Linked DNA regions of Homo sapiens: region 1 is linked to region 2. The links are contacts of gene promoters, found by promoter capture Hi-C in human tissues and cell types (Jung and others, 2019). All regions are on one chromosome and are shown on one strand. The core of a region is centred on a gene start or on the middle of the fragment in contact, and the rest is flanking DNA. Distances in the headings are between cores, read along the strand shown.

Evidence for each region. Contacts are between HindIII fragments. The study calls those that stand out against the background at their distance.
Region 1: a contact is called between a fragment that was not itself captured here and the fragment with the promoter of ADCY10 in region 2, in 2 of the 25 tissues and cell types used here (adrenal gland and ovary).

The regions. Positions count from the first base shown.
Region 1 is chr1:167,963,839-167,971,016 of GRCh38, forward strand. DCAF6 (DDB1 and CUL4 associated factor 6) reads left to right here. Exons shown (of 22, transcript NM_001198956.2): 3 at 2,791-2,883. Among named protein-coding and RNA genes, the nearest start is that of MPC2, 30 kb to the left of the region's middle. The HindIII fragment of the contact is 4,037 bases long and covers 1-3,696 here.
Region 2 is chr1:167,908,936-167,916,000 of GRCh38, forward strand. It overlaps ADCY10 (adenylate cyclase 10), which reads right to left and starts at 5,199. Exons shown (of 33, transcript NM_018417.6): 1 at 5,041-5,199. It also overlaps a transcript of DCAF6 not described here. RefSeq lists enhancers at 4,227-4,903, 4,904-5,580. The HindIII fragment of the contact is 16,444 bases long and covers 4,696-7,065 here.

The sequences.
Region 1 (7,178 bases), core at 428-2,927, 51 kb after region 2:
ACTATACATGTACAACAAATCTAAGTCCACTTTATTTCAAATAACACTATAATGATTCACAGGGAGTGTGAGTACAAAGTAATTTTAAATCTTCCATCTTATACCTTGTACTATTTCTGTTATTCATTTCACTTATTTATAAGCACTCATAAGCATATTTTTGTATATGTGCTAGATATAAGCATAGATGATCAAATACATTGTTGCTGTTATTTTGAACAATAAAATAATTTGTTAGCTCAATTAAGAATAAGTAAAATGAAAGTTTGTGTTTTATCTTCACTTATTCCTCCTTCAGTGCTCCTTCTTTCTTTATGTAGATATATGTCTCTGACCTATGTTTATTTTCCTTTTCTTTAAAGAACTCCTTTTGTAATTTCTTGCAAAGTAGGTCTGCTGGCAACAAATTCCCTCAATGTTAATTTATCTGAGAAAAGTTTTATTTCTCCTTTAGTTTTGAAGGATAATTTTGCGGGGTACAGTATTCTAGGTTGGTTTTGCTTTGTTTTGTTTCCGTTACTGCTTTAAATATTTCACTCTTCTTGCTTACATGATTTCTGAGGAGATGTTGGATGTAATTCTTATCTTTGCTCCTCTATAGATAATGTTTTTTCCTCCAGCTTCTTTCAGGATTTTTTCTTATCTTTGATTTTCTTTAGTTTGAAAAATGCTTGCCTAGCTGTAGTTCTTTTTGTATTTATCCTGATTATTGTTCTCTGAGCTTACTGGATCTATGGTTTGGTTTCTCACATTCATTTGGAGGAAATTATCAGTCATTATTATTTCAGATATTCTGTTCTTTTCTCCTTCTCCTCTGGTATTCACATTATACATGAGTTATGCCTTTTGTAGTTGTCCCACATTCCTTGGACATTATGTTTTGTTTTGCTTTTTTTCAGTCTTTGTTCTTTTTGCTTCTCAGTTTTGTACGTTTTTATTGATATATCCTCAAGGTCAGAGATTGTTTCCTCAATTGTGTCTAGTCTACTAATACGCCCATCAGAGGCATTGTTCCTTTCTGTTACATTGTTTTTGATTGCTACCATTTCCTTTTTATTCTTAGGATTTCCGTCTCTCTGCTGACATTGCCCATCTCTTCTTACATGCTGTCTACTTTATCCATTGGAACTCTTAGCATGCTAATCATAGTTGTTTCGGATTCCTGGTCTTACAGTTCCAACAGTCCTGCTATGTTTGGTTCTGATGCTGGCTTTATCCCTTCAAATTGTATTTTTGCCTTTTAGTATGGCTTGTAATTTTTCTTAATAACTGGACATGAAGTACTTATTAAAAGTAATGGTATAAATAGGTCCTTAGGAATTTACTGGTAAAGTGTAGGAGGAGAGGAAGTGTTCTACAGGCCTATGATTAGGTGTCTGTCACTTAAAGAGCCTATACGTCTGAACTGTGGGCTTCACAAGGGATTATCAGCACCTCCTATTCCCAACTGAGGTGGAACAGGTTAGTAGATTAGGCTGGAGTTATGTATTTTCCTTCCCCAATGCGGAAGGCTGGAATTGGGTATTTCTGTTTGTCTAGGTCAGTTAGGCTCTAATAAAACCTCAGTGGGTAGGCTGTGGTGAAATAGCTTTTCTTAAGGGCAGATCTTGTTAAGAAAGTTAGAGTACTCTGGGATACCCAAAATGGTTTCTTTTTCCCTCCCTCTGCTGGATGTACAAGGTGATTTTAATCTGAAATTTATTGTGAAAATCTGGTTGAGCTCTGAAGTTAAAATCAAATCACAAAAACACCCTCTGCACCATACCCCCACCGCATGACTGGGTTCCCTGGAGTTTTTTTCTTTTTTGAGACAGAGTCTTGCTCTGTCGCGTAGGCTGGGTGCAGTGACACGATCTTGGCTCACTGAAACCTCCACCTCTTGGGTTCAAGCAGTTCTCCTGTCGGGAGGCTGAGGCCTCCCGAGTAGCTGGGATTACAGGCGCATGCCACCATGGCCGGCTAATTTTTGTATTTTTAGTAGAGACGGGGTTTCGCCATATTGGTCAGGCTGGTCTCGAACCTCTGACATCAGGTGATCCACCCGCTTTGGCCTCCCAAAGTGCTGGGATTATAGACGTGAGCCACCGCGCCCGGCCTTCCCTGGAGTTTTTAACATTCAGACTTAACGCTTTCTGAACCTCCAACAATTCATCAATTATAGTTCAGGTTTTCCTACCCTAGCTCTGTTTCTCACAGAGGTTTCTGCTCATGAGTCTGTGCTCTGGTAAGCCAAGACTCCTTGTGTTTACCTGTTCATCTCTGCAATCTAGGGGGTAGCATTTTGTCCTGTGTCCTTACCTCTCTGAAGGATCCAAGATCAGTTATTGATTTTACAGTTTGTTAACTTTTTATTTGTTGTTAGTATGGAGTGGCAACTGCTAAGCTTCTTACGTGTGGAACTGGAAACTGGAAGCTTGTTTTTTTAATACATCAACTATTAAATCAAGCTTGTCTAACACACGGCCCGTGGGCTGCATGAGGCCCAGGACAGCTTTGAATGTGGCCCACATAAATTCATAAACTTTCTTAAAACATTATGAGATTTTTTTGCTATTTATTTTTAGCTCATCAGCTATTGTTAGTGTTAGTGTATTTTATGTGTGGCCGGAGACAATTCTTCTTCTTCTACTGTGGCCAAGGGAAGCCATAAGATTGGACACCCCTATGTTAAATACTTTTTAACGTATAACCTCATTAGTGGTAAAAATTTTGTACCGCCAGGTGAGTGAAAGATGGCATATTTTCTTTTATGTCCAATTTGCTTATATTTCTTTTTTGCTTTCTCTTTAGGTTAATACAATCTGTTGGAATGACACTGGAGAATATATTTTATCTGGCTCAGATGACACCAAATTAGTAATTAGTAATCCTTACAGCAGAAAGGTAAAGTAGTTTAAAAAATCTGTAATTTAATGAGAGAAAAAAAATCAAGAAGGCAGAAATGAAGAAACTGTGAACAGTCATAGAATGGGCATTTATATTAGAATATCCTCCCTATTTTGCTGAGGTTTATTGTATAATTTAGAGGTTCTTAGGTACATGTGGGTCTCTTAGATTACTTAGGGAAACAAGATTTTATTCAGCCTTGGGATCTAGAAAATTTAAATATACTTTATTTAAATGGTTAATAATTGGTACAAGTGACATTATTTCAATAACATTTTTTGGGGGAAAATGTGCCATAAATAAAGTATGAGTTAATGAGAAAATTACTTTTATGTGTTACCTTAATATATTATCTTAACATTCTAAAAAGTTACTTATTTTAATGTTAAGAATAGTGTGGGTAAAGCTGCCAACTTTGGTCATTGTTTCGTTTTCTTAAAAATTTGAAATTTAGTCTTTTAGAAAATTTACATTTAAAACTTTTAAAGACAAAAACAGCCAAATGACTGCGGTGTGAATAGTTCTTGAGGTACTGAGAAAATTAAAATGGTTTCAATGAAGAAAAAAATTACCATAAGCTAATAAACTCCCTCACTAGAAGGCAAGAGATATCTAAGAATTAAATAATTTTCTAACTCTCAAGTAACTTTAATTACTGTTTCAAATAGCATTCCATTTTATCCACAGAATGTTTCCTTTACAAGGATGGTTTCAGAGAAATTAAGATACTGAATGATAAAGCTATAAACAGCTGACTGATTGTAATAAAAAGAAAGTGTGTGATGTTCTTTACACTTGACATAACAGTTAAATGAGAAACCTTCTGTTTTAGAAATATGACTAAATAGTTATTTTAAAATTTGTAAGATCTTAAACATTCAACACATCATTTAAAGTTCCAGTTAAGAATAGGAATATGTATATTTCCTAGCTGCCTCCCAACTCACATGATACATTTTTCTCTCCTGATTGTCTTAAATTTCCTGTATCTTTTTTTTTTTTTTTTTTTTTTTTTTGTGGCAAGGTCTCACTCTGTCACCCAGGCTGGAAGGCTGGAGTACAGTGGTGCGATCTCGGCTTACTGCAACCTCTGCCTCCTGCGTTCAAGCGATTCTCCTGCCTCAGCCTCCCAAGGATCTGGGATTACAGGTGTGTGCCACCATGCTCGGCTAATTTTTATGTTTTTGGTAGAGACAGGGTTTCACCATGTTGGCCAGGCTGGTCTTGAACTCCTGACCTCAAGTGATCTGCCCACCTCATCCTCCCAAAGTGTTGGGATTACAGGCATGAGCCACCACGCCCAGCCCAAATTTCTTGTATCTTTAAGTCTTTTAACATCTATTATTTTAATAGTAATTCCAAAAATGTACTCCAGCTTTTAATTTTTTATGGTAGTAGCAACCGTGTATTGGTGATTGTATCAGTCGGGTTCTAGTCAAAGAAACCACACAGTAATTTCAATAGGGAAAGTGTAATAAAAAGAATTACTACCTATATCAGGAGATTGGAGTAGTAAAGGCTTGGCTGCTAAAAAGTAAAAAGGTCTCTATAAAATACAGAAATAACAGATACTATGAACCGCCACTAACCCTGGGACTGAGATAAACCACTGAAAAGAAGAGACCCCCCCGTGCTGAGTGCTGAGATTTAGACCTTATTGAAGAGGGTGTCATGGCTCACTGGATGGCAGGGAAGTCTCTGTGATGTCATGCTAGTGTAACTTGTTGCGAATTCCCCTCTGGAACTTGGTGGAACACCTCTCTCTAGAGCACTGAGAAATACTTTTTAAGGAGAGGTTTCTCATCAGAGGTAGTATGCTACAAAATGTCTAGGGACGTGGGGAAATGAGGCAGGAGAAGCTGTCGGGTGTTGAACTGTTCATTTAGTAGGTGGGCCCTGGTGAAACTGCAGGACTCTGGTGCTATGGTGTTGGGGAAACTGCCCGTGCTGGAAGACCCTGGCACTGGAAAACCTGTGCATGGTTGCAGGAGCTCCCATTAGAGATAGGAAGCAAACTCCGTTTTCCTGCATTATTCTTTCAGTGCTTTTTACTGGCAAAGCTTAACATCATGCCAACTGGCAAAGGAAAAATATTTGAAGGACTCAGTTCCATTGCATAATCTATAAAAGTGAAGGGTAAATTTGGAACTGAGAGGAAATAATTTGATAAGTGGCACAGTAGTCTTACCTTTATCTGCTTCTTGGTATTATTGCAATGTGAAATTTACTTCATTAATATTTAGGTCTTTGAATGAAGAAGAGTTCCATGAAAATTTTAAAATTATATTATGATTACTATAATGGCAAATATAGATTTATATGTTGGTTTTTTTTTACCATTCTGACCAAGTTATTTAAACTTTCCTTAGCCTTTTTCTTCATATATTAAGAAAGTCATTATGTCTAAAGTCCTTTCTAATATTAATATTTTATATTTGTTTCTAAAAATGTTTTAAAACATTTTTGTCTATTAATTTAGGTTATATAGTGATGTTTGAATGGGCCTGGCTGGCTGTTTGAAGCTGGATCTTACAGGTTATGACTTACTCTTTTAGGCTCATAGAATGTAATCTTCAGCCAAGTAGTTTAAGAAACTGGATTTTTATCAGTTTACAAACAGTGGCTAGGTTCTAGTGAAATGCTTCATGATATACAATTCGATAAGCTGGGATAACATATGAGTTCTAATTAGGTTAGGATTATGTTCTGATTTTCATTGGCTTTTAGCTTCTGAGTTCATATATAGAGGAAGTATACAGCTGTTTTTATATCTGAAAACATGGTATTAGCAGTCCAAAGTGTAATTTAAAATTTTCAGTTTTACAGAATAAATTGTTTATTTCTTGTTTTTCCACACTTAATAAGATATTTAAATAAGTGTGTATCATCTATCAGCTGAAAAAGAAGTTCATATTGAGGCTGTCTTTAATGGGTCGTAGTTTTATTTCATTAAGTTTTACTTAATTGTCCTGGCTTAGCAAAAAAAGCTTGATGTTTTCAAATCCTACTTCTCTTAGGTCAGTAATTACAAGGGTAACACTTTTCATTTTATTTTTTATTATTCTTTTTTGAGATAGAGTCTTGCTCTGTTGCCCAGGCTGGAGTGCAGTGGCACGATCTCGGCCCACTGCAAACTCTGCCTCCCAGATTCAAGAGTTTCTCCTGCCTCAGCCTTCCAAATAGCTGAGGCTACAAGTGTGTGCCACCACGCCCGGCTAGTTTTTGTATTTTTTGTAGAGTTGGGGTTTCACCATGTTGGCCAGGCTGGTCTCGAACTCCTGAGCTCAAATGATCCACCTGTCTCCACCTCCCAAAGTGCTGGGGATTACAGGCGTGAACCATTGCGCCTAGCCCCCTTTTCTTATAATAGAGAAGATTTCCTGAAATAATGTATATGTAGAAAGCTTTTTGACGATCACTATTCAGAATTTTAACTCTTACATTATACAAAATAATCACTTGGGTACCAAAGGAATGATTGTTAAAAGACCTGTTTCTGTTTTATTTGCTTATTTTTAAAGAAATGACGATCCCTTTGATGTATGATTTCCAATAGAATATGTATATTTGAAAAAATGATACTCTTTCTCATTTCCAGCTTGAGAAATGATTAGTCAGATTTTCTTTTTAAAGATTATAATCATAGGCCAAGTGTGTGGCTCACGCTTATAATCCCAGCACTTTGGGAGGCCCGAGGTGGGAAGATCGCTTGAGGCCAGGAGTTAAAGACCAGCCTGGGAAATGTAGTGAGACTCTGTCTCTACAAAAAATTTAAAAGCTGGATGTGGTGGCACATGCCTGTAGTCCCAGTTACTCGGGAGGGAGTGGCAGGAGGATCACTTGAGCCCAGGCGTTCCACCACTACACTCCAAGTCTGGATGACAGCAAGAGCTGATATCTTAAAAAAAAAAATTATTATCATAAGCCTTTATAGGGCTTTTTAAAATTTTAAAACACCAATGATTCATTATATAGGAAAAAAAGCTTTTTGACCATGAGTCAAATACTACCTGTTTTTATAGTTTGATTATTTTTAGATCCTATGATTTTGTGGGAACATTAATTTATTGAAAATAAGAGTTTTGAAACACTTAGTTTTTTAAAAAAATAGATTTAAGAGACTGGAGATATTCCTTATTAATGCAATTATATTTTAATTATATATAGCATAGAGACTCCCCATCATATACTGGGGAGTCCCATTAGGGTACCCTATTATGGCATAGGTGAAAGAGAAGGAAGCCCAGAGATGGTCTTGCAATATCTTTTGTAAAATAAATTCCAAATATATA
Region 2 (7,065 bases), core at 3,949-6,448:
GAAAATGTACAAATCATAAGTGTATAGCTTGAATTACTCTAAGGTGAGCAAATCCGTGTAATACCCATTCATAGCAAGAAGGAAAACATTACCAGCTTTCCAGAAGTTTTTCTCATGCCACCTTCAAGTCACTACCCTTCTCTTTTCCCTGAAGGTAACCTTTCTTATTTCTAACAACATAGATCACCTTTGCCAGTTTTCAAACTTTATATAAATGAAATCATACTACATATTTTGTGTTTGTGATATTCATCCATGTTGTTGTATATCAATAATTGTTCATTTTCAATGCTATATAGTATTCCATCACCTGATGGAATATACCACAAAACATTTATCCACTATACTATTGACCTGTGGGTTGTTCCCACTTTTAGACCATTATGAATAATGGTGCTAAGAACATTCTTATTCATGTGTTTTGGTGAAAAGATGTATGCATTTCTCCTGGGTATATACACAGGAGTGGAATTGCTGGGTCATAGGGTATACACATGTTAAACTTTAGTACAGGCTTGTCCAAGCTATGTCCTGTGGGCCACATGCGGTCCAGGATGGCTTTGAATGCAGCCCAACACAAATTTGTAAACTTTCTTAAAACATTATGAGATTTTTTTGTGATTTTTTTTTCTTAGCTCATCAGCTATCATTATTGTTAGTATTATTTTATGTGTGGCCCAAGATGATTCTTCCTCTTCCAATTGTGCCCCAGGGAAGCCGAAAGATTGGATACCCCTGCTTGAGTAGATCTTGCTAAACAGCTTTCCAAAGTGATGGTACCAACTTACACTCCCTCAGGCAAGGTATGACAGTTCAGTTGCTACATATCTCAGCCAACACTTATTTTGTCAGGCTTTTCAACTTTTAGTCATCTTGCTAGGTAAGTGGTGGTGAGGAGACAGGCCATTTCTCTTACTGTCTCTTGTCTCTGAAGAGAAAGAGGAAGTAAAAGCTGAAAAACACAGGAATGAAGTCAGTGGCAAGACCAGCCGGCGCCACTGATGACCAGGTCTGAGGTTAAAAGATTAACCCCCATTCTAACCACATGTGCTATCTACAGATCTCAATCTATTATGACCCTTTCACGTGGAACCCCTCACAGCTCTAAGCCCTTAAAAGGGCCAGGAACTGTTTCTTTGGGGACCTCAGTTCTTGAGATGCAAGTCTGCCAATGCTCCCAGCCGAATAAAGCCTCTTCCTTCTTTAACCCGGGTGTCTAAGGGGTTTTGTCTGTGGCTCGTCCTGCTACAATGGTATCTGTGGTTTTGTGTTTCCTTGTTGGTACTAAGGAGATTAAGCACCTTTTCATATGTTAACTAGCTATTTGGATGCAATGCAATTTTAAGATACATAAAAGTGTTCAAATCTAATCCAGAGGACTGAAGTTCATTGACCTCTTTAAAATTCATTGACTCTGGAATGTGAGGAATGATGGCAGAGACTGGAAATAAGTCAGAAAATTATGACATTTTGGTTAAAATTGTAGTTGTCTTCAAATATTTGGGCTGAACTGTGAAAGTTGTGGGGTAAGTGGTGGACGTGGGCTAAGTGGGGGACATGGGTGTGTATGCAAGGTGTAATGTGGGACCCTGCAATCAAAGAACAACTTCCCTACCTTCTCCTTGAGGTAGAAATTTGGTTTGGGTTAGCAAGATTAAAGTTCATGGGAAGTATGCAGTGGGAAAGGAAAGTTGGTGTGTTTTTCTTCAGTGGAGGGAGCTAGTTATCAAAGAATAAGTGACTGTAAACAGTATGTTCCGTAGGCATGGGTGCTCTGAAGTGGCTTCCACAGATGTGCTGAGTAGCCAGAGAACTAAGATAGGACTGAGCAGAACTGAGCAGGGCGTAGCTCTATTCTTCCCTCTCCTGCCCCCAGTTCACTGGCTCAACTTTGACTTCTTTAGCTACCAAGCTTGTAAGATTGAAAGACTGAGCTAATGAAAACAGAGGATGCTCAGTTAAATCTGAATTTTAAATAAACAATTTTTTAGTATAAATATATTCCAAACATTGCATTCTTTCTAGCAGCCCTACTATCAGCCCCTTCAATCTTGGCAATACCACACTCTCCTCACATGCATAGTATAGACTGTTTTGCTAAAGTTGTTAACACTGGATGGAAAGTGGGTTAGGTTTATTCTTTGTTGCTCAGGATCAACTAGGATCAATGACTGGCAATCACCGAAGGACAAATATAAACAATGTAAGAATGAGTGTTCAAACTGGGCAGTTTTAGGAAGTGTTGAATAGCTATCTACCTGTGAGGGTAGAGGTATAAAAAGTAAAGTAGAGGTTCCTCTTCAAAGACTTTCCTCCCCGTCTAATTAGGAATAAATAGTAACTTATCTTAAAAGCAAAATTTATTCAAAGACCTGTGCTAACATTCTTAAATATCTGCTAGCCATAATAAAGAAATCAATGTACTTTATGTTCTTGGCTCCCACAATGTAGCCTAAATATTTGCCCTGGCATGCTTATACTGGTCCAAGCAACCATTAGGTCATAGCCTGTTCCTCTTCCTTATTTAAAAGTATTTTTACTTTTCTCAGCATTCCACAAGTTACTTCCTCCTTCTTTTGTTCTCCTCTACCTTTGCCTCTTTTAAAAGTTCTAAGTTGCTAGCCGATCGGGACAAATACAGAATGTGAGGTCCTGTTCCGGCCAATGGGCAGTAGGGTGAACGTGTCAGGTTATAAATGACCCCGTCTCCTTTGTTCAGTGTACTCTCGTGGCAAAACTGCTGGCGAGTATACCCTCTCTGCAGGAAGTAAAAATGCCCTTACTAAATAAATTTATGTTCAAGTGCTATTTCTTTATGGCATTGGAGAACAAGCGTTTCAAACAGAGGTGATTTTAGTCAGTGTAGAGATGAATTAGATGATTGTTAAGATTCTATTGTTTTAATTAAGGTGATGTGAATGAACTTGGACAGATTTTTCTGTTTATGATGACCAAACAAGGAAAGTACATGCATTTTGAGATTAAGATGGCATATGTAGATGTGAAACTAAAAGAAGAAAATGATAGGTTTAAAAGGCAGGGAGATCTAAAATAAATATCTGGGAGTTTCTTATGAACACCCATAAAAGACAATAGAAATTTTCTATTTTTGAAGATATAGTTTTCTGCTTTAAGTTCTGCAACATCACAAAATGATTAGTGATAGCTGTATTTACCTTTCTACAGGCACATACCACATTGTAATTATAATTTATTATGACCTTTTTATGTGAAGCATTCTATTGTAGGAGTTATTAAGAAATTATTTTAGGCAGATAGAGAGGAAAAGGGGTCCTTGGGAAATTTTCATTTTTTAAAGCATCTCCAGAAAATTTCTTGTAAAGCCTTGGCTCTTAGAGCCAGGCCGGCAACCTTTGATAAGCAAATGAAGGCCATTAGAAACAGGGCCCACCCAACATGGCGATTCCGGAGGCCTTCTTTCCCTTGCCCCACATGTTCCTGGCAACATGGCCACCTCCACATACTCCCACGTGTGTAGAACATCATGGCACCCTGCATTTGCATATTAAAAGGCTAGGGTGAGAGGGCTAGCTTTTTCAAGGGCTTTGTGAATGACATGCCTGGTCAAACCAATCCCCTGAACCCTATGCAAATCAGACACTGCCTCCTCCAGCGTCTGTAATATATACCTAGCTGACGTCCACCCCACTGGGGGTTCCCTCTCTCGGCTTTGGAGCCCCCCTCCCTCTGTCTCTGTATGGGGGAGCTTCTTCCCTCTTTCCTCTTCCTTCTTGCCTATTAAACTCTCCGATCCTTAAAATCACTCCACATGTGTCTGTGTCGTTTTATCTAAACCGGGATGAGGACTAAGAACCTTGGTGTTCCTCCACTCATCGGAGCCGTATCAATTCTACATAGGTTGCCTCATTTAATCATCCAAACAGCGCTATGAAGTAGACCTGATTTCTATAGATATGAAAACTGAAGCACAGAGGTATTAACTTGCTCTGGGTTATAAAGCTGGAATATCCAGGTCTGTGGGACTTGAAAGTCCCTGTTGTTTCTACTATATCATGCTATATCCCATTTGTATACGCTTTATAGCACTTTGGGGATGTATATGACCTAGACAAAAGATGTAGGTTTAATTTAAGAGCACTTTCAATGCATGTTGATGGTACCCTTATCAACTGTTCAGCCAATTCTATCACATCAAGAATACAGCATGAACAGCATGGGTACTGACAAAGCGCGGAAGCACCTTGGAATGAGAAATGAGGATACCTGAGTCAAAAGGCAAGCAGGCGAATGAGGCCCGAAAGATAAACCAAGAAGGATTCCTGAATGCGGAGTGTGAGTAAAGAAAACTCAGTAGTACCCAAAAATGAAAAGAGAAATTAGGGTTCGATTATATTCATCAGTTTCTCTAAATCTCTCCTCTAGAATTTCCTAATAGATTTTATATTCAACTTTTCACCTACATGTAAAGTCAGGTTTCACGAGTCCAAAGAGGGAGATACTCTGAACTTAAAGGCACAGTGTTACCTGTCATGAAAGCTTGCTTGCCTACTCTAGCCATGGTAATTTTTCTTCTGAGCTATTGTGGCTCTTAATGTCTACACTTAAGTGGCTTATTTCCCATACAAATATCCTTGATTATCTTTTGAATTGCTTCTATTTTGTCTTCATCTGAATTGTAAGCTCCCCGTTTGGAACCATCTTCTACATATCTTTGTTTACTCCACAGCACCTTGCCAGAGCCCCCTTCAAGAGGTAGGCACTTGGTAGTTGTTGACTGATAAAAAGGAGGATATCACGTGAGAAACTGCAGAAAAGAGGCAAATAAAGAAAGTAAGCTAGAAAGACAGAGCATCCAGGTTGAGAAGGTGAGGCAATATTTAAGCCTTCAAGCTTCTAAGCTCATGTAAGGGACTGACACAGAGGTATACACAAACTTGAACCCTGACTTCTAGCCCCAGGCTTCCCACTCCTCTGCAATAGCTGTCTTCTTTCCTGACGGTCGCCCTCATCTTCAGCTCTGCAATCAATCTTTCTGCTGAGACTCTTACTTCCACATACCTCCACTTCATCCAGGGCTGAGGAAAAGCCAGACCTCAGTTAGGGACTAGGTCTTTTAAGACTGCAGAAGACAGGAGAGGAGGCCGGGTGACATTATTCTGAAGACAGCTGAAGCGCCATGTCTGTCTATAGCTGACCCATAAAATGACAGTTTTGTCTAAAAGCCGTTTTCCAGGCCACACCCTCATCAGTAGCTCATTGTTCCACGGGCACCGACCATGTTTCTGATTGGGTGGCACTGCCGTCCCCTCCCCCACCAACCTGAGTGGCCTACTACTGTACAAGGAAGGACTGGCTGTTTCAGGTTCTCTTATCCGCACATTTGAGGCAAGGGTCAGGGGAGACTGACATGACCCCAGAGTAGTTTACACAATTCTTCCCTTGGCCATGTGGAGGATGGTTGAAATTAGGCAATAGTTGGTAGGTGATCATCAGAAGTATCTCCAGAGCAAGCAAACACCTAATTTTAGTCAATAGTGGTTACAGCTTGTACCAGGACTATGAAATTTACCAGTTATAATAAATTCAATACTTACCTTCAGATATATTTGTGAGGTAAATTTTTGTTTGAAGAATTATATACCTGCCCTTTCTGACTGGTCAAGTGCACGCTTTTAATCAAATTTATCCCAAAGATAACTTGAAATCCAATGGGCACTGGATTTGAGTTTTCTTTATCTGATGTGACACTGGAAAAATGTATTTTAAGAGGCTGGTGTGTTTTCTAACAGCTTAAATCATGTGTTGATTTTCTAAATGTTCTTATGTATATCATCACAACCACAATTATCATTTAGGGGCACAGCTTTTAAAATTGGAATTTAAAAAGTCTTATTTAAAAAGCTGTACATGTTCTCCTATAAAGCCCCGCTCTGTAATTGTTTACTGTGTACTTCCAAATGTTGTAAAACACAGTTGTCTTAGGGAGGAAAACAAGAGGGTCATTTAATTATGTTCATTGAGTGAATTTTCTGGTGTGAGTTGTGGAAACCAGTCTTATAATTAGAATCATACCTCATTTAATTAAACAATCCCCTTAGGGAGAGCTATTCTTAATAAATGCCAGTGTTTTCTATTTCTGCTTCATTATATAAACAGGCTCCAGTAGAGACCTTTGTTTTACAGAAAGGAACCTTAGCTTTGAGGTCCATCCTCATTAACATTCAACCTTTCGCTATGATTTTATAAGTTAAAAAAGAAAATATTTACTATGAGGAAACAGCAGCACTGACATACCTTGGATCAAAGTTTCCTTAAAAGAGATGCCATACCACAAAAAAAGACTAAAGAATTTATCTCTTATTGAGCATTCTCCACCCCACCTACTACTCCTCTACCCCAAGCAGCTTCTTTTCTGCTATAAAGTTATTAGTTCAGAAACCGTGCAAATAGGTTAACACAGTATATCCTTTTTGTAGTAAAATTAAAACTTCCTTTAAAGTACTTAAAGAAAAGTACTTTCTGGGTCTACCTTCAATTAATAAGATTACCATTTTCTGAACTTTCTTCTTGTTGCCCAGGCTGGAGTGCAATGGCGTGATCTCAGCTCACTGCAACCTCCACCTCCCTGGTTCAAGTGATTCTCCTGTCTCAGCCTCCCAAGTAGCTCGGATTACAGGCATGTGCCACCATACCCAGCTAATTTTTTTGTATTTAGTAGAGATGCGGTTTCACCATGTTAGTCAGTCTTGTCGCGAACTCCTGACCTCAGGTGATCCACCTGCCTCGGCCTCTCAAAGTGCTGGGATTTCAGGCATGCACCACCGCGCCTGGCCCGTTTCCTGAACTTTCCATATCTTCAATATTTACTGTGGACCAGGCACTGTGTTAAAACCTTATCTCAATCTTTAGAACAATCCTATGAAGTCAGTACTATGATTATCCTCATTTTGCTCTTGAAAATATTAAAGGTCAGAGACAGAGGTTAACAAAGTCTCACAGTTAATGTGTGGCAGAGTTGAGTTGAAACCCAGGGCTGTCAGACTTGGCATTGAGAAAGAAAACTTACATAGTGAAGCTATCAAT